Linked DNA regions of Homo sapiens: region 2 is linked to region 1. The links are contacts of gene promoters, found by promoter capture Hi-C in blood cells and fetal thymus (Javierre and others, 2016). All regions are on one chromosome and are shown on one strand. The core of a region is centred on a gene start or on the middle of the fragment in contact, and the rest is flanking DNA. Distances in the headings are between cores, read along the strand shown.

Region 1 (6,922 bases), core at 3,927-6,426:
TACTGTGCCCATTGAGGGGTATAGGGAATACATTTTCTAGGGTTCTCAATCTTACAAATCTCTAACTTGTTCCTTTGTTTGTTTTTCCACAGGTGACAGAGATTGGCAAAGATGTGATTGGTTTAAGGATCAGTCCTCTGCAGTTTCGCTAAGGCCCCCTTTGTGTGCATGGGTCAGTCACCATATGTTCCCCCCAGAGAATGTGTCTATATCCTCCTTCTAACAGCACCTTCCCCCTGCAGCTACTCTTCAGATCTGGCTCTCTGTACCCTAAAACCTAGTATCTTTTTCTCTTCTATGGAAAATCCGAAGGTCTAAACTTGACTTTTTTGAGGTCTTCTCAACTTGACTACAGTTGTGCTCATAATTGTCCTTGCCTTTCCAGCTTAATTATTTTAAGGAACAAATGAAAACTCTGGGCTGGGTGGAGTGGCTCATACCTGTAATCCCAGCACTTTGGGAGGCTACGGTGGGCAGATCATCTGAGGCCAGGAGTTCGAGACCTGCCTGGCCAACATGGCAACACCCCGTCTCTAATAAAAATATAAAAATTAGCCTGGCATGGTAGCATGCGCCTATAGTCCCAGCTGCTCAGGAGGCTGAGGCATGAGAATCGCTTGAACCTAGGAGGTGGAGGTTGCATTCAACTGAGATCATACCACTTCATTCCAGCCTGGGTGACAGAGCAAGACTCTGTCTCAAAAAAAAAAAAAAGGAAAACTCTGTGATGGACATTTGTTTAGTAAATCCCTTCAGTATTTATCCCTCCTTTCCCCACAGCAGCTTTCTTTCCTGTCAACTAGAAAGGAGCAGGATGTAATAAATACATTTTGGTGTGACTAGGCCACACCAACTCTTAATCATCTCCCATTTTCCTTAGACATTTAAATTTCAAGGCAGGTACCCTCTGTGTACTCAGAAATTTGAAGAAGTTATTTGGTTTTCCAAAATGCACACTGCGGGTTATTGATTTGTTCTTTACAACTATTGTTCTCATATTTCTCACACTAAATAAATCTCTATGAGAGCTTCTTGACTTGGCCATTTATTTCTTGGACACTCTCATGTTCTTGTTCACCCATGCAGGCACCCCACCAAAGTACATATCTTCCTTCCAGTAATAATTTTTAATTACAAAATAAACATCCACTATTGGAAAAAAAAAAAAAAAGCTAGCCGGGCATGGTGGTGGGTGCCTGTAATCCCAGCTACTCTGGAGGCTGAGGCAGAGGATTGCTTGAACCCGGGAGGCGGAGGTTGCAGTAAGCTGAGATCGCGCCACCGCACTCCAGCCTGGGCGACAGAGTGAGACTCCATCTCAAAAAAAAAGAAAGAAAAAAAGAAGCACATGTTTTTCATAGGGTATATATGAGGACCTAAACTGCTGTGAAAATGATAGAAAGCAAGTAGCTCCCTTATTCTGTTTTTGATTGCAGCCTTTTATCTTTTGCTAATTATAGCAATATTTATTGAGCACCTGCCATGTGACTGTCACTGTTCTAGATATTTTACATGTAATATACAGATAAAAGAATAGTACTTTATATATATTACAATGATACAATGATTACATTAACAATACAATATTTTGCTTGTCATATGCTAAGAATAATTGGGTAGAGTGACATTACTGTGCCTTCGATTAAAATAAGTACTTTTTTGCGTGTTAAATTCATGTTTTCAATAAATAATAAATGCATATAGTTGAAAAATCAGTAAATATAAAAAGCTATTCTGTGACAAATCTTTCCACCCTTTCATCAGCCACCCAGTTCCTATCACCTTCCCCTAAACAGGTAACCACTGTTACCAGCTTTCTTACATCCTTCCAGAAATTTTATATATATATATATATACACACACACACATATACATGCACATGCTGATATCACTATGCCATTCTCTATCTCCTTTTATACACAAATGAAACCACACTATTTAACAATTTTGTACCTTTGTTTTTTCATTTAACATTTTTGGTATTTTCTCGTATCAATATATTAGGGAGCTTCACTTTGTTTTTTACTTCTCTTCATACTATACGTTGTATTTTTTAGCTTTATCTTAAGAGTTGCTTTTTTAAACAGCATCCCTAAACTAAGGCTGCCTTCTCAACAGAGTACATACTACTAATGAGATTGTGCCATTGCACTCCACCCTGGGGTACAAGAGCGAGACTTCGTCTCAAAAAAAAAAAAAATGTACATATTAGCCGGGAGTGGTGGCTCACGCCTGTAATCCCACCACTTTGGGAGGCCAAGGCAGGCAGATCACCTGAGGTCAGGAGTTCGAGAACAGCCTGGCCAACACGGTGAAACCCTGTTTCTACGAAAAATACAAAAATTAGCTGGGTAGGGTGGCAGGCACCTGTAATCCCAGCTACTCAGGAGGCTGAGGCAGGAGAATTGCTTGAACCCGGGAGGCGGAGGTTGCAGTGAACTGAGATCACACCATTGCACTCCAGCCTAGGGGACAAGAGCAAGACTTTGTCTTAAAAAAAAAAAAAGGCCGGGCGTGGTGGCTCACGCCTGTAATCCCAGCACTTTGGGAGGCCAAGGCAGGCGGAACACGAGGTCAGGAGATCGAGACCATCCTGGCTAACATGGTGAAACCCTGTCTCTACTAAAAATACAAGATGTGAAATAATTGTGACTCCCAGGCAAGAATTAGAATTTGTTCGATAAACTGTGGAGAACCATTAAATCCTTAAGGAACAGAGTGATATGAAAGCGTTATAAAATACTGTTATTCAACAGTATTCGCTATACATTAGAAGGGCAGAAGGAGCAGTCAGTAGGTCAGTAAATACTGAGATGAGATGTTAGGAATATTAGGAGTAAAAATAGAAAAGCAGAAAGAAGTTTAAGAAATAATGCAAAGAAAGAATCATGCTTGTTTTTGACTCCATTTTAATTATCATCTATTATCTTTTAATTAACATGCTTATATTACATTAGTTTAAAGCCAATTGACCAAGTGTAGTGGCTCACATCTATAATCCCAGTACTTTGGGAGGCCAAGGTGGGCATATCACTTGAGGTCAGGAGTTAAAGACCAGCCTGGCCAATATGGTGAAACACTGTCTCTACTAAAAATACAAAAATTAGTTGGGCATGGTGGCGCGAGCCTGCAGACCCAGCTACTCAGGTGGCTGAGACAGGAGAATCACTTGAACCCGGGAGGTGGAGGCTGCAGTGAGCCAAAATTGCACCACTGCACTCCAGCCTGGGCAACAGTGAAACTCTGTCTCAAAAAATAAAACCAATAGAGATGCCTGTTGATAGACAAGTTTTCTTTTTTTGACGTGCTTGTTACAACTATAGCCATATTGGAGATACACGTGTAAGCAGTTTGAATGAGAAAGTCTGGAATAAATTATGTTGCAGGTGTTGGAAAACAGGTTTATCAGGAAAGGATTTGATTACAGAAGTTTAGAATTGTAAAGGACTTCAAAAGTGATTAGTGGCAGAATTGGGGCTGGAATTTAGGCTTTCTAACTCACAGTTCATAATATTTTGATCCCAAAACACACTACTTGTGGTTGGAAGAAAACAGGTTTTGCAGATATGATTTTACAAGTCTGTGCCCTATCTGTGAAGGACATAGTAAGTGCTTGATCTGGTGCTTGATGCAGTACTCAAATGTGTGTTTAGGAAGCTAAGAATGAAAGTGATGAGGTGACTTAACACAGGATTTTTTTTCATTTAAAATTCTTACCTTGTATCATACTGTGTGTATATCTCATCATACCTCCGGCTCACCCCCACTTAGCTACCTTACAGCAGGGGGTGGTCCTGATTTATCTCTCTGTCCTCACTGTGCCCAGAACAAGACCTTAATAATAGGTGCTCTCTAAGTGCGAAAACAGATTTGTATGTGAAACAGTTGCTACATTCTGACATCTGAATAGAACAATTCCAAAGGAGGAAAGGGACGTCTAGAGTTACCTCTATCTGAGCATTCCCCGTGTTCACTCAGTTGGAGGTTGGGTTCTGTGTGGAGAAAAGGAGATTGTTCAGGGAAAGTAAGTCTATTACTACTGCATTCGAATTGCCCTGCTCAGTCCAAGGTACCAGAGGCTCTCTTAATAACATGGAGTTCTAAGTTCCTGGCCGGCCCTGTGTCCTTTAATCAAACAGTTCTAATAGATAATAGGAAATGAGAGATGCCACTAGATTGGGCAGACAGATGTGCCTGATTAGGGACTGCGAGAGCAAAGAGTGGCCAATGAATGCCTACTAAGTTTTAAACCCTAGCCTGGGAGTTGGGCTTTACAGCAGTGAAGACAACAGACGAAAATCTTTGCGTTCATGGTGTTTAAATTCTGCAGGGTGGGGAGCGGAGAATAAAAAAGTACGGTAGATAGTATGTCAGATACTGTTCAGTGTTAGGAAGAAAAGGAACGGGAATGGCCAAGGAAAGCGTTTCAGAAAAGATAATATTTGAGGGAAACAATGAAGTGAAGCCGGGCGCAGTGGCTCACGCCTGTAATCCCAGCACTTCGGGAGGCCGAGGTGGGCGGATCAGCTGAGGTCCGGAGTTCGAGACCAGCCTGGCCAACCAGCCTGGCCAACATGTTAAAACCCCGTCTCTACAAAAATTAGTCGGACGTGGTGTCGCGCGCCTGTCATCCCAGCTACACGGGAGGCTGAGGCAGGAAGAATCGCTTGAACCCGGGAGGCCAAGGCTGCAGTGAGCCGAGATGGCGCCACTGCATTCCAGCGTAGGCGACAGAGCAAGATTCCTTCTCAAAAAAAAATAAAAAAAAAAAAATGAAGTGAGAGAAAGTAGTATGTTATGTGCCATAATTGTCATATCAATTATATATGTTTAGATTCTGGTTATTTGTAGGCAGTTTGTCTCAATCTGGCCTACTCACAGCTCAGGAAAAAATAATGAAAGAGCTTCGCCAGGTAATTTGGGAAGTTGAAAGAAAGGAGTCCGGGCCTCTAAAACCAGACAGAAAATAACCCTATCTTATCCCTAATTCTGTTTCACAGGAGAAAAGGGAAAAATACCCAAAACACAAACACTCAAAGCTTCCTGGCCCTTTAAAAATGGCGGTTCCGCACTGGTCAACAATACCATTGGTTACCCGAGGCAGAAGAGGGCGGGAGCGAAGGGGTGGAGGGCGTGTCGGCACCGAGGAGGTCCCGCCTCCTACGGCAAGTCGGAGGTAGCAAGATGGCCGCCGCTGAGGAAGGCTGTAGTGTCGGGGCCGAAGCGGACAGGGAATTGGAGGAGCTTCTGGAAAGTAAGAGCCCATAGTGGGAAAGGCCCGAAGAGGGCACGTGTGAGGACCCATTCTGGGGGTTAAGTGAACCTGAGATATTAGGGACGGGCAGGAGAGGCTCTCCAAAGGTTAAATGGGGGCGGAGAGTCTGACCCCCGAGCCCCCCAAAAATCTCTGGGTCATCCTGCCCCACCCCGGCGACTGGAGCTGGGGAGCTCACCTGGGGTCCCTCAGTGGTCCGGATGGTGGATGTTTCCGCAGGACGGCGTTTCATGATACCTCTTCAAACTCCTCTTTAGGTTACTGAGTTCTTAAAGTTCGACTTCAGCAGCAGTAGCAGCAGCAGCAGCATTTGGTTCTTGCTGGGTAGCGAACTACGCACTCACTGATTGCTTACATTAACTCCTAGCAAGCTCGTGGCCGGTCCTTGTGTGCCTCGTCCTGTCTTCCTTAACACGAAAGACACTTTTCTCCTCCTAGTCCTTTTCTCTTTCTCTCGTTAGGCCCCTTAACAGTTCTTTCATCTTGTCAGTAGCTCAAGCGGACTCCTTTCCCTTATTTTGAGAAACTGAGGATGTGGCGATTTCAGGGGAAAGCAGTTCACCCTCCTGAAAGACGGGGGATGTTTTCTTAGCATTACTCTCCACTCCCCTGTTGACTTCCTGCCCAGAGTAGGGCCAGTGCTCTCTCCCTAGGCCTGGCGAACAGAATGGTGGTGAGGACACAGGCTTTTCAGGGCAGAGGTGAATTTGTAATCGCTTGCTCAATCACGGAGATGTGGGCAGGCAGAAAAATGAACAGAAACCCTGAGGAGTGCCAAGTGACTGTGTAAATTAGTGTACGGTTATCTGCAGAGATCAGGCCAAAGGGAGCTCTAGAAGGTTGTTGGGGAGCACTAAACTGGAGAATAAGAGAAGATAGTTTAATGCCGTACCATGGAGTCTGGTATGTAGTCCCTCAGTCTGTGCTGGTACCAGTACCAACAGGAAGCTGGGTGGGATGTCCTGTGCTTTCTCACCAAGTTATTCCTTTTAGAGCTCCAGAGTGAGTTCAGAGGGATGAGGACATCTGTGTTCTCTACTACTGTTGGGTATTTGTATGGGATTTCTAGGGAATCGTTAGGGTGTGGCAAGGGAGACACTATAGATGGAGATGTCTCTGCAGAACTTTTTAATCCTCTCCTCCCAGCTCTGAGATGGACATTTGTTCCACCTTAAGGGATTTCTTTGCCTTTGCTCACAATAAATTAGGTAATCCAGAAGGAAGTAGGAGGCTCATTGAGGGTGGTCTGGGGAGGTGGGGGACTCAAGGAGGAAAATTGAGGAAAGTTGGCAATTTGAAAAATCATATTCCTAATGCTTTGCCCAGAAACCACCCAGCCTTGCTTGCATTCTCATCTGTCGCCAACACACACACCATGTCTCTTGTCTCTGAAGGTGCTCTTGATGATTTCGATAAAGCCAAACCCTCCCCAGCACCCCCTTCTACCACCACGGCCCCTGATGCTTCGGGGCCCCAGAAGAGATCGCCAGGAGACACTGCCAAAGTATAAATTCCACCCCCTTAAGGGATGGGGAGGGGATGGGCATGCAGCCCTGAGCAGAGGTTGGGCAGGCCCCTATGGGCCAGAGGGGAATGTGGGAGGGTACCTTGGCCTCACATTGGTGAGTGCTCTTGCCAGCCTCAGTC
Region 2 (5,397 bases), core at 2,563-5,062, 770 kb before region 1:
CAATCAGGAGGCTGTAGGAGTGCAATTGGAACCTGAGCGCTTGGTCAAGATCCTAGAGGTGCTTCGGGAACTCCCTGTCCCAAACTACAGGTATGTGACACTCCATATCTGCCCAGCAACCTGAGACAACTCATTCACTCGCTGCCTGGAGCCTTAACTGGGTCCTACTGCTCCCAGGTCCCAGCCCTAATGCCTGCCCTGGGCATTCCCTGTGTGATCCCTGCCCCCGCTTTCTGCAGGACCCTGGAGTTCCTCATGAGGCACTTGGTACACATGGCCTCATTCAGTGCCCAGACCAACATGCATGCTCGCAACCTGGCCATCGTGTGGGCTCCCAACCTGCTGAGGTAGGTGCCTGTGTGAGCAGTGTATGGGGATCCTGTGAGACACTGGCCTTTGGGAGGCTGCTCCCAGGATGAGGTGTGACTGTGTGGGTACACTGGAGAAGGGTGTAGGGCTCACAAAGCCCAGTGAGAAAAGAAGGTTCAAGATCATGGTGGGTCGGATGGGCCCCATCTATTTTAGTCCCTTCTCTGTGATCAAATAAAGTCCCTAAAAGGCAGGACTTTTGTGTTTTCCTACAGTGTGTCACTGAGCTCAGGGACTGGAACATAACAGTTCCATATCAATTTTTTGTTTGTTTTTGAGACAGAGTCTTGCTCTGTTGCCCAGGCTGGAGAGCAGCGGTGCGATCTCAACTCACTGCAAACTCCGCTTCCTGGGTTCAAGGGATTCTCGTGCCTCAGCCTCCTGAGTAGCTGGGATTACAGGCATGAGCCACCATGCCTGGCTAATTTTTGTATTTTTAGTAGAGAGAAGGGGTTTCACCATGTTGGTCAGGCTGATCTTGAACTCCTGACCTCAGGTGATCCACCCACCTCCTCCCTGTGCAAGTGCTAGGATTACAGGTGTGAGCCACTCTGTCCGGCCTCACGCCAAATGTTTGTTGAGCAAAACGTCTTGCAGTCTGTTGGCTGTGCTCACTGTGCATATCACTCACTGTGGTCCAAGACAGACTATGAGAAGTCCTGTAATTCATTATAAAATTCATTATAAACTAGACACCCTGGTGTGCAAAGGAAATAGAGATTAATCCTGAGGCGGGTGTCCAAGAAGGCTTCCTTCCTAGAAGTCTTCAAGTGGCATTTGAGAATTGGAAGAATTATGCATACAATTTAAGAGGTAGAGAAGGGGTTAAGGTCATTCGAGAGAGAGAGAGAGAGAGAGAGAGAGAGAGAGAGAGAGAGAGAATAAGGTATTTTCAGGGAGAATCTGGATTGGGAAGTTTGGTGGGGCTGAGGGGGAGAATAATTCCACATCTCCACAGGTCTAAGGACATAGAGGCCTCAGGCTTCAATGGGACAGCGGCCTTCATGGAGGTGCGGGTACAATCCATCGTCGTGGAGTTCATCCTCACACACGTGGACCAGCTCTTTGGGGGTGCTGCCCTCTCTGGTCAGTGTCCTTCCTGCCCTCCACATATCCCACTGTTGGGGAGTCAAGTTAGTTACAGAGAGCCTTGAAGATCACCTACTTCAGCTGAGTCTCATACAGGGATGTTGGTAGTGGCCACATGGAGAGAACCCTGGGGAGATAATTGTGCAGTCAGGACTTGAGAAGACTTCTTCTGCTGTCAGTCTAGGGCATGGCTTGACCTCTGAGTCACCATCCTGGCTCCCAAGGCTAGTGATGGCTCATATCCACCCCCAGCCCACCAGGCCAACGTTCTCGGATCTCCCAGCCCTCTTTGTCCATGAGGGCACTCTTTTGAGGTGATGGACATGGAGGCACTGTCTTCAGGGGCTTCTGAATATATCCCTAACCTGGTAGTTGGCGAGGGGTGATGAAGGATTGGGTGCCTGAGGTCCCTCTCTTGGCTCTGTTCCTGGCTGGCCAATTCCTTTTCTTTTCCCAGGTGGTGAGGTGGAGAGTGGGTGGCGATCGCTTCCAGGGACCCGGGCATCAGGCAGCCCCGAGGACCTTATGCCCAGGCCACTGCCTTATCACCTGCCTAGCATACTGCAGGCTGGCGATGGACCCCCACAGATGCGGCCCTACCATACTATCATCGAGATTGCAGAGCACAAGTAAGGCCTCCTTCCTGGGCCTTCCTCCCCTGCACCGACCTTCATGTTCCAACCTCCAATTATGCCCCTCCATTCTTTGTAGGAGGAAGGGGTCTTTGAAGGTCAGGAAGTGGAGGTCTATCTTCAATTTAGGTCGCTCTGGCCATGAGACTAAGCGTAAACTTCCACGGGGGGCTGAGGACAGGGGTAAGTCTGGGGAGATGGGGGGAGCTCTGCTGAGGGTGCACAAGGCCCTGGCTCTACACACATCCCTGTCTTACAGAGGATAAATCCAACAAGGGGACACTGCGGCCAGCCAAAAGCATGGACTCACTGAGTGCTGCAGCTGGGGCCAGTGATGGTGAGTATAGGGGTGCATTTCTGTGTGTATGTGTGTGTGCTATGTGACCAGCGTGGGCTTGTGTGTACATGCAGCCAACTGTGTTCAATAATTTCAAAAAATATTTAATGAGTGCCTATTATATACCAGCCACATTGTAAATGTAGCTGAATGCTACGGTGAGTTGATTGTCTAATCTATGACTTTGTTGATGAGTGTTCGTATGGGATGGGACAGCATGGGTATGTGGTGGTGGTGGTGGTGGTGGTGGTGGTGGTGGTGGTGGTGGTGGTGGTGGTGGTGGTGGTGGTGGTGGTGGTGGTGGTGGTGGTGGTGGTGACAACGGCCAGTGACTGTATCTGCAGGGAAGGAAGGGAGTTCCCTAGGTATGTGAAGGTGAGGTGATCTTTGACCTACTGGCTGGGTGAAAAGTTTGCAGTAGTGATCAAAAGAAGCTGGGCCTGGTGCCTTCCAGGCTATCGTTGCTTTCAAGCCTGAGAAAGCAGAGAGCATTCTCCAGAGCCTTCTTGAGATGTCTAGGCCCCTTGGAGTTTAGGCTATTGCCTACCTGGCCCTCTTTTTCCTCCACAGAGCCAGAGGGGCTGGTGGGGCCCAGCAGCCCCCGGCCAAGCCCATTGCTGCCTGAGAGCTTGGAGAACGATTCTATAGAGGCAGCAGAGGGTGAACAGGAGCCTGAGGCAGAAGCACTGGGTGGCACAAACTCTGAACCAGGCACACCACGAGCTGGGCGGTCAGCCATCCGGGCTGGGGGCAGCAGCCGTGCAGAACGCTGTGCTGGTGTCCACATCTCAGACCCCTACAATGTCAACCTCCCGCTACACATCACCTCTATCCTCAGTGTGCCCCCGAACATCATCTCTAACGTTTCCTTGGCCAGGCTCACCCGTGGCCTTGAGTGCCCTGCTCTACAGCACCGGCCAAGCCCTGCCTCTGGCCCTGGCCCTGGCCCTGGCCTTGGCCCTGGCCCCCCAGGTGAGGACCCATTGATTGACCAAGACTAGGAAAGGGGACTGGAACTCTAGGCTGAAGCTCTGATGCTGGAAGATCCACCCTAGGAAGGGCAGAGGCCTCAGCCCTTGGGCTTTGGGGTGGTTACCTTTAGCTGCCTCCCTAGATTCAGGATTAGGGAAATCCAGTAATATTATCAGGCTATGTGAAATCTATGGAGAGGAGATCTCTAGCAGCCTTCAGAACATTGATGTACCCAAGAATAGGGGCCTGTGTCAGAAACATACAGCAGGGATTACTAAGGACAAATGTGGGAATATATAATAGATGGATGGGTAACAATAATAGTAACATCAATACTATCAGCTAACATTTAGCAAGAGTTTATTAAGTACCAGCCAGGCGCCGTGGCTCATGCCTGTAAACCCAGCACTTTGGGATGCCTAGGCAGGCAGATCACCTGAGGTCAGGAGTTCAAGACCAGCCTGCCCAACATGGCGAAACCCCATCTCTACTAAAAATGCAAAAAACTGGCCAGGTGTGGTGGCAGATGCCTGCGGTCCCAGCTCCTTGGGAGGCTGAGGCAGGAGAATCGCTTGAACCCAGGAGGCAGAGGCTGCAGCGAGCCGAGATCACGCCACTGCACTCTAGCCTGGGCGACAAGAGCAAAACTCTGTCTCAAATTAAAAAAAAAAAAACAAAAAACAGTTTATTAAGTACCAAGTGCTAGGCCAGGCACGGTGGCTCACACCTGTAATCCCAACACTTTGGGAAGCTGAGGAGGGTGGATCACTGGAGGTCAGGAGTTCGAGACCAGCCTGGTCAACATGGTGAAACCCCGTCTCTACTAAAAAAAATTAAAAAAAAATTAGCCAGGCGTGCGTGGTGAGGCATGCCTGTAATCCCAGAGACTCAGAAGGCTGAGGCAGGAGAATTGGTTCAACCCAGGAGGTGGAGGTTGCAGTGAGCTGAGATTGCGCCACTGCACTCCAGCCTGGGAGACATAGCAAGACTCCGTCTCAAAAAAAAAAAAAAAAAAAAAGGTCCAAGTGCTGTGATTGCAGGATTGGTTTGTTTCATTTTCTCATAATCTTATGACATAGGTATTGTTAGCCTTATGTTACAGCAGTGGAAACTGAGACTTAGGTTAATCAATTTGCAATTGATTTAGGTAGAAGTAGCAGAGCTAGGATCTGATCCTTGCTCTGACTCCAGTTCCTGAAGTGTCACTCATGAGAAGTCCTGAGGCAGGATAGGATAGTGGGTAAGAACATGGGCTATAGAGTTAAGTAGACTTGGGTTCAAATTTTGGCTGTACTGCTTATTCATTACATGACCTTAGACAAATTGCTTAATCTCTCTGAGCCTCAGTTTCCTCATATGTAAAATGAGGACAATACCCCACATAATAGTTTGGAGGAAAAAATGCCAATGCATTGTAAAATACATAGCACAGTGCTTGGCACCTGGTAGGGTCTCAATTAAGGTAGCAAGCCAATAACTAGGGACATTGGTCTGAAAGGATCAGTCATGCAGAGTAGCAATGCTGGGAGTGCTGGGCCCCTGCTATATCAATGCTAGGAGGACTCACACTGAAAAGGGTCAGGGCTTGACCTTTGTATTCCTGGGACTACTTCTCCCCCAACAGATGAAAAGTTGGAAGCAAGTCCAGCCTCAAGTCCCCTGGCAGACTCAGGCCCAGACGACTTGGCTCCTGCCCTGGAGGACTCGCTGTCCCAGGAGGTGCAGGACTCCTTCTCCTTCCTAGAGGACTCAAGCAGCTCAGAACCTGAGTGGGTGGGGGCAGAGGATGGGGAGGTGGCCCAGGCAGAAGCAGCAGGAGCAGCCTTCTCCCCTGGGGAGGACGACCCTGGGATGGGCTACCTGGAGGAGCTCCTGGGAGTTGGGCCTCAGGTAAGGAGAGCCGTGCTGGGTTTGGGGGTGGCATGGAGTCAAGGGTGGACAGGGCCTCCTGGTCCTGAGTCACAATGCTGTGCCTACAGGTGGAGGAGTTCTCTGTGG

What was found. The method cuts DNA at HindIII sites, captures the fragments that hold promoters and counts their contacts. A CHiCAGO score of 5 or more calls a contact.
Region 2: a contact is called between a fragment that was not itself captured here and the fragment with the promoter of PEX19 in region 1, in 1 of 17 cell types (fetal thymus). The highest score is 7.6, in fetal thymus.

The regions. Positions count from the first base shown.
Region 1 is chr1:160,283,387-160,290,308 of GRCh38, reverse strand. It overlaps PEX19 (peroxisomal biogenesis factor 19), which reads left to right and starts at 5,176. Exons shown (of 8, transcript NM_002857.4): 1 at 5,176-5,254; 2 at 6,670-6,779. The coding sequence starts at 5,185. It overlaps LOC107985219 (a long non-coding RNA gene), which reads right to left and starts at 5,944. Exons shown (of 3, transcript XR_001738265.2): 1 at 5,454-5,944; 2 at 3,948-3,992. It overlaps COPA (coat protein complex I subunit alpha), which reads left to right. Exons shown (of 33, transcript NM_004371.4): 33 at 93-1,715. The coding sequence ends at 152. The HindIII fragment of the contact is 4,290 bases long and covers 5,042-6,922 here.
Region 2 is chr1:161,049,316-161,054,712 of GRCh38, reverse strand. ARHGAP30 (Rho GTPase activating protein 30) reads left to right here. Exons shown (of 12, transcript NM_001025598.2): 4 at 8-90; 5 at 240-347; 6 at 1,328-1,455; 7 at 1,916-2,087; 8 at 2,170-2,273; 9 at 2,350-2,427; 10 at 2,998-3,399; 11 at 5,024-5,289; 12 at 5,379-5,397. Among named protein-coding and RNA genes, the nearest start is that of USF1, 6.0 kb to the right of the region's middle. The HindIII fragment of the contact is 8,752 bases long and covers 1-5,397 here.